Regions from separate parts of the Homo sapiens genome. Here region 2 is linked to region 1. Evidence: promoter capture Hi-C in human tissues and cell types (Jung and others, 2019). All regions are on one chromosome and are shown on one strand. The core of a region is centred on a gene start or on the middle of the fragment in contact, and the rest is flanking DNA. Distances in the headings are between cores, read along the strand shown.

Region 1 (3,445 bases), core at 57-2,556:
TGGATCTGGGAGGAGTTCCCTGAAGCCCTGAGCGTGAGTTCTGTGGAATGTGCTGGGGAAGGGGTCTCACCGTGATATTCTCGGCCTCCTTGGCCTCCAAGAGGTACCTCTCCAGGACTCGGCTGTCACAGATGAGGCGTGGTGGGGCGCCCAGGACTGGGAGGCCCAGAGGGAGCGACAGCAGGGACAGGAGAAGCCACAGCCAGGCAGGACATTCTAGAACAGATAGCCAGGCTGAGAGTCAGGCGGGGAGGGAGAAGGGTGGCTGTGGAAGGACAGCTTCCTTCATCCCCACGTCTCTGCCCCAGCTCGTCCTTCCTGTCCCCAACCATGCAAGCACTCAGGTGCTGCCTCCCTGGCCTTCATTCAATCCTGCTGCCGTGTGCACACCCCACCCCCAGCTACCAGCATCCACTTCTCCGGCCAAACTTCAATCCTGGTGTGACAGAGGCTTCCCCTCTGGCAGATAAGTGGTGGCTCCAGCGCCCAGGTTATCAGCTTATCAGCTTCCTCTCCACTGGCACAGCAGAACCCCCAAACCTTCTTCCCCTCAACCCCCAAACTGTGTCCCCTTCACAGGTCAGGTTTTTGCCATCCCCAAGGACTCCCCCAAGTCCCCGCTGGCACGTGGAGGCTGCCCCACCCCCCTCCCCCTTCCGGGGTCCTTGACAAGTCGCCGGTCCTTGAACCCAGCCACCTCCTGGCCAATAGCCGGGGCGCTAAATCCCCGCTCAAACAGGGACCCGGGCGGGCGGGAGCGCCCAGCCCGCGAGTACTCACCGTGCACCCCCATCTCCGCGCCTGGCCGGGGTCCCTCAGCGACCTGGGGCGCGCCGGGTGACCACACCGGGGGCCCTCATCCCGGGAAGCTCGGCGGTGCAGGGCCAGCCCCACGGGCCTGGAGGAGAGGGCGGCTGTCCAGGGGGCGCGGTGTCGGAGCAGAGCGGGCGCGGTGGCCCCGGTCCGGCTCCGGGAGGACAGCGCGGTGCGGCGCAGCGCAGCGAGCGGCCGGGGTGGCCCAGGGACTCTGCGGCTCTGGCCGGGGGTCGGGGCTGTTATCTGCATGTGTGCGTGCGCGGGTGGGGGTGGGGGAGAGGCTGTGTGCGTGAGGGGTCGCCAGGGGTAGGGGCCACCCGGGGTCAGAGCAGGGGCAGGACGCCTGGGTTGAGGCTCGCCGGGGCGTGAGCGGGGCTGCTGCAGACGTGCGTGTGGGTCATGGGGGCTGCTCCCGGGCCCTGGGTCGCGGGAGGGGAGTGCAGCCGGTTGCGCACCCTTGGGACTGGCGGAGCGTGCTATCTGGGAAAGGCTGGGCTCCCGGACACCTCCCCTGGGGGGCATCCCGGTCTTGGGCGGAGACTCAGAGATGCCTGGGTTGCTGAGTTCCGCAAAGTAGCTGGGTCTGGAAGCCCAGAAGCTTTAGGGAGGGGCAAATGAGTGGTCTCCCTTCCCACAATCCCAGGACATGTTCTAGAAACAATGTTGACCATGTTGAGGAATTTGATGGGGGCAAATAGGGCAAGAAATTTGGGGTTCTTCCTCCCCACCTCACTCCTCACCGTCTAGTACTCTGCAAACCCAGACACTTAACTTTTTTTTTTTTTTCTGGAGATGTAGCCTCCCTATGTTGCCCAGGCAGTGCAGTGGTGCCATCTCCCGTTCACTACAACCTCTGCCTCCTGGGTTCAAGCAATTCTCCTGCTTCAGCCTCTGGAGCAGCTGGGACTACAGGCACACCTTTACACCCGGCTATGTTTTGTATTTTTAGTAGAGATGGGGTGTTGCCATATTGCCCATACCGGTCTTGAACTCCTGACCTCAGGTGATCCACCCTCCTCGGCCTCTCAAAGTGCTGGGATTGCAGGCGTGAGCCACCGCACCCAGCCCCCACCCCAGACACTTAACTTTTAGTGCACAGAGCACACAGTCCATTGTGCAGGACACACATGCACCTTGACATCTGTTTATTTGACCTGTGGTGTAGGTTAGCTAGGCTGCATTGCTGAGTTCTTAAGAACACTGAAATACAGCTAACACCAAGAGTGATGGGGGCTGGGATTTACAGCTAAGGTTTTATGGCTTCTGGAAACCCTGAGCCAGAGGAGTGAGATTCCCAGAGCAGGAGACCAAGACTAGCTGGTCTCTCACACCTTAGAAAGTGGCCTCGTCCTTGAGCCCTCAATGTCCTCATCTGTCAAATGGGTGTGGTGAAACTACCAGCCTATCCCATTCAGGTTTCATAAAAGACAGGAAAGGTCCAGGCGCCGCAGCTGACACCTATAATCCCAGCACTTTGGGAGACCAAGGCAGGAAGATCCTTTGAGCCCAGGAGTTCGAGACCAGCCCGGACAACATGGCAAGACCTTGTCTCTAAAATAAATAAATAAATAAAAAATAATTAGTCAGGTGTGGTGGCTCACGCCTGTAGTCCCAAATATGCAGGAGGCTAAGGCAGGAGGATCACCTGAGCCCAGGAGTTCGAGGCCGTAGTGAGCCATGATCGTGCCACTGCACTGCAGCCTGGGCGACAGAGTGAGAGCCTGTCTCAAAAACAAAAAAAGACTGGAATGTGTAGATCTGAGCTGTAAGAGTTAGCCGGGAGAAATCAAGAAAGATTTGAGGGAGGAGGTGACAATGACCTCAGCCTTGAAGGGGGGTAGGACATCAATGGGAAGAGGTATGAGGTGGGTGGGGGATTGTCGATTCAGCAAAGTGAATGGAGAGTCAGGTGAGTATTGCGGGATCTGGCCAGCAGCCCGCAATGCAACAGGGCTCTCTCTTTGTTCCCAGGCGGATCAGCAGGTTGAGAAATAATAGACACACACAAGATAGTGAAAGCTGGTCCGGGGGGTCACCGCCTTCTGGTCCCGTGGTGTCAACAATGCACCAGATGTACCATCATTTATTATTAAGTTTAGTGAGGGCGGGGGTAGGTTAGTGAGGGATTTAGGGTCATTTGATTATGAGGTGAGATGGTCACATGGGGATGAATTAATTCTTTAACATAACATTTATATGTAGAAGTACAGTACATTTGTATGCAGAAGTACAGTATACAGAGATAAGAATTTACAATATAGTGTGTGCATCAGTAATTTCTAACAGAGCCTTAAAACAGAAACACAATCTTTCCATAACCTATGATTAGCAAGATACTAATCAGCAGTAACAATTGCAACAAAAGCTGGTTACAGACAATCCATGGAAACAGGACATGAAGCTAGACAACCAGTTAGACCAGAAATTCTCAGAAGGGAGTATGCCTTAACCCTAAAGAGGCCTAGAAGAGCCATGGCAAGATGAGGGCGTTTATAGCCCTATCTTATCCATATGGACAGGTGCCCCCCGCCCCCATGCGTCCGTTTATAGGCTCTCCACAAGGGTCGCATTCCATTCCCAGAGCTATGAACATCTGCTTTTCTGGGATAGAAATCTTGGTGATGTGAAA
Region 2 (3,666 bases), core at 716-3,215, 160 kb before region 1:
TGCTTCTGACAAAGTCCTTTGGGGAGTCACTGACCGTGGGCAGGGGAGGCGTCCCTGGTTCTGAGGCCCAAAGCTGTGTCCTGTCATCCAGCGTGTGGATCAGCTTGGCCGCCAGCTTGATGTCGTTGCGCACAATCTGCTTGTGCTGGGTGATGCCGTTGATGTTGCGAACGCGCCGGGTCAGGTCCCTGTTCACACCAGGGCTCAGCTCACACTCCCGGAGCTGGAGGGCAGACATCATCAGCAGCTTACCCCACTTACCCCGCTTGCCAGAGAAACAGCAGCTCTAAGACCCTTCCCTCTTGAGCACCAGCGATTGATCAGACTGCGAGCTCCCTGGGGACGGGGACCACATAGGTTCCGTCCATGCTAACGCCCTAGAGCCTTGCCCAGAGACAACGTAGCCAGACAAAACGGTCAAAGAGTGTGCAGAACAACCAAACTATCAGATGAACAAAGTCACACAGAGGTCCCGTGTGGCACAGAGTCTCCCTTCCTCTTCCCCACAGTCCCACCCCCAGCACTCACACGGATGTTCTGCAGGTTCCAACAGATCTCTTTAATGTTAACACTGCGGTCGAAGGTCACCCAGCCACGACGGAAAAACCTACACAAGAAAGAAAATGTTAGCATAGTCAAGCGAGGGAGTTGGTGTTGGCCATTAACGTTCCCCTGCACTTTTCCCTCCAACGCACCGAGTTACTCACCTCCTCTCTGGCTGGGGCTCTGAGAGCGCCACCCGCATAAAGCCTGGGTACCTTTTACAAAGCTGCAAGAAGCAGAAAAGCAGCCCCACAGTGACTCAAGGATTCATTCGCTTCTTCCTCCAATCCCCCACTGCCCTCAGAACCCTAGGGACTAACTGCCTTATCACTCTTCCCATCCTTGGGCAGGGAAAAACCACTAAAGGGCTTCAGAACACCAGCACCTGAAAGCCAATGGCGCTATCAGGACTAGTCCTCGGAGGCCATGGAACCTGGGGAAGGGGCCTCCCTAGCAGGTGAAACGGGGGCATCTGTCACAGGCAGGGCCCCACTGCCTTCCCTCTACCCTCCACTTCTCCATCAGCCCTGCCCTGACTCCACGGGTCCCCACTCACGGAGATGATCTCGGCCCGGGAGATGTTGGGCGCGATGTTGCGCATGAAGAGGGAGCAGGTCTTATGCAGCGGCCGCGGCTTGCACTCCAGCCCCGCGGCGTCCTTGGGCTTCTCCCATTCTTCTTCCTTGGGCTTCTCCTTCTCCTTGAGCGCTTCTTCTAGGCAGGAAGGGGGGTAGGAAGGAGTTGGTGCATTTTTATTACTGATTGTGGTGGGGAGGATACAGAAGCTTTCCCCTAAAAGCCACCCACCCTCCCGTCAATGTCGCCAACCTCTCACCTCCCCACCCGCATTAGGAGAACGCACTTTAAAGCAGAAAAGAAACCCTACCGGCCTCCTCCTTCTCCTCCTCAGCCTGGCCGCTCTCTGACTCCGACTCAGACTCTGACACGCTGCCCTCGTCAAAGCTGTCGTCACCACTGTGCTTCCGGTTCCGCTTCTTGCTACTCTGTGTGAGCCACAGCAGAGGGGACAAGTCAGCGTGCCAGAACCCCAGCCCCAACACTCTGACCCCAGGCCACAGACACCTCACCTTTTTGGCTTCCTTCTCGGAGTCTTCTTTCTTCTCTTCCTTGTCCCCATCACCCTCCGACTTCTTTGTTTTGTCATCATTAGAACTGTCATTCTCAGCCTATGGTAAGAGACAACCACTGGGGATGTCAAACCTCCCCTCCCACCTTTATCAGAGGGCCCCCACCCCCACAGCTGAGGCCACAGGTTCATTTTCCCCAGCCCCCTACTTCTAGCTCCTATGGACCCCTACCCGCCCCCCTCCCCCAGGCTGCCAGGGACAACACTAGGAGACCCAGGGCTCGGACCTGCTTGCCGTCTTCCTTCTTCTCATCCTTGTCGTTGGTTTTGCGCTCCCCGTCCCCTAGGCCTGCTCCAGCCCGTCCTTCTTCTTTCTTGCTGGGCTCCCCAGGCTTTCCTGCCTGCTCCTCCTCCTCCTCCTGCTCCAGGATGCGAAGATCATTCTCCGTGCCTCCTTCCATCTTAATCACGGCTACCAACAAAGGGAACAGAGGTCATGACCCCAGGGCCCTGGCTCCTGTCAACCGGCTTCTACCTGATCCCCAGACACCCCCACCCCCATGGGGCCCAGATGCCTGCCACCCCTCCAAATCCGCACACCTGCATCCAGCATCTTGACAATGGCATCAGCTTTGTCTATGTCCAGGAGAAGGTTATCAAACCAGCCAGTCTCCATGAGGGACAGGAAGACCCTCAGTCGGTTTTGCAGGGCCCCCCGGGCCTCCTGCCGACGCTTCCCCACCTCATCTGGGTGGTACTTAGACCGAAACCTGGGAACGAAGCGGGGGAGGGAAAGACAAAACAGTTATTGGAAGCCAAGGCCAGGATGTGGGAAGGGGCCCAGGAAAGACAGGGCATATCCCCCTTCCTCTCACAACCACAAAAGGTCATCAAAATAGAGAGATTAAGGGATAGGGGTGCGCTAGAACCACCCAACACCCCAAAAGGAACCAGAAGTTGTGTTCTGTGAAGATTTGGGGGAGAACCAGGAACTAAGAGCTCTGGATTTGGGAAGACCAATGACTACAGGGGGACGCCAGGGTAGGAGAGGCAGATTTACCACTTTAAATCTCTGGGAAACACTAACGTAGTAAAAAGGTGTCATTTCCCAAAGCTTCAGAGAGGAAGGCTCAGGAAATAGCAGGCCCTGAAGAACCTCCCTCTCCTCACCAACCCCAAACTGCAGTCATTCAAAAACTGCTCCCGCCAACTCCCTCCACCCCGAGGTGGAAGACAGAGGGCCAGATAGCAAAAGCCCAGAGGCAGGGCACCTTTCTCCACCCGTGGGAAGATAAGCAAGACGGTGAAGGGACAGGAAAGACCGAAGGGAGACACTGGAGTGCCCTTTAGAGCCTCAGGTCCTGCCCACAGGGGGAGAGAGAGGAGAGGGCTGGAAGGTTAGGGAGAAGAAAAATAAAACATTTCAAATAGGACCTCAGAGGGAAAACAGAAGAAATGAGGAGTATGAGGAAAAGGGGAAAGGGAGGAAAGGGGAGAGTGTGAGAAAGTCCCAGAAACCGAAAACAAAGGGAAAAACTAAAGATCAGAGAGAGAAACTAAAAAAACCAACAGGGAAGAAGGTGGTGTTAGGCAGGGAGCAAGAACAGAAACAGAGAAGAATGAAGGTGCTGAGAGATTAGGACAAAGACACAGAGCAATTCGAGAGAGGGGACAGCGAAGACAGAACAGAACCACGAGTGGGGCAGAAGAGGAAAGGAAAGCCGCAGGCATCACCTCCAGGATCTTTACCTTGGCCGCTTGGTCAAACAGAGCTCAAGATTTAACTAGCGGCGCCCAGGGCCCATGCTGGCTGGTGGGCCACCGGCTGGCTCCTGGCTGGGCGCCCGGCCGAGATGCCCACGCGGGACTCCGCAGTGGGGCCTGACTGGCTAGCTGCCTGAGCAATCACATTCAGCTAAACCGCTGCATTGTGCACAGCAGTGCCCTGGCCTGTCTGCCTGGCCGGGGCCGCGCAGCTCAGCCCAGGGGCTCATGTATGGGCTGGGTATGGTGGGGGTGGAGGTGGGTTTGCTCCG

The links. Contacts are between HindIII fragments. The study calls those that stand out against the background at their distance.
Region 2: a contact is called between a fragment that was not itself captured here and the fragment with the promoter of EPO in region 1, in 2 of the 25 tissues and cell types used here (liver and mesendoderm cells).

What each region holds. Positions count from the first base shown.
Region 1 is chr7:100,718,329-100,721,773 of GRCh38, reverse strand. EPO (erythropoietin) reads right to left here and starts at 1,306. Exons shown (of 5, transcript NM_000799.4): 1 at 781-1,306; 2 at 71-216. The coding sequence starts at 793. The HindIII fragment of the contact is 31,866 bases long and covers 1-3,445 here.
Region 2 is chr7:100,882,804-100,886,469 of GRCh38, reverse strand. It overlaps SRRT (serrate, RNA effector molecule), which reads right to left. Exons shown (of 20, transcript NM_015908.6): 6 at 2,231-2,400; 7 at 1,918-2,102; 8 at 1,632-1,730; 9 at 1,430-1,547; 10 at 1,100-1,257; 11 at 708-769; 12 at 529-607; 13 at 35-223. Among named protein-coding and RNA genes, the nearest start is that of UFSP1, 5.1 kb to the left of the region's middle. RefSeq lists an enhancer at 1-666. The HindIII fragment of the contact is 4,538 bases long and covers 1-3,666 here.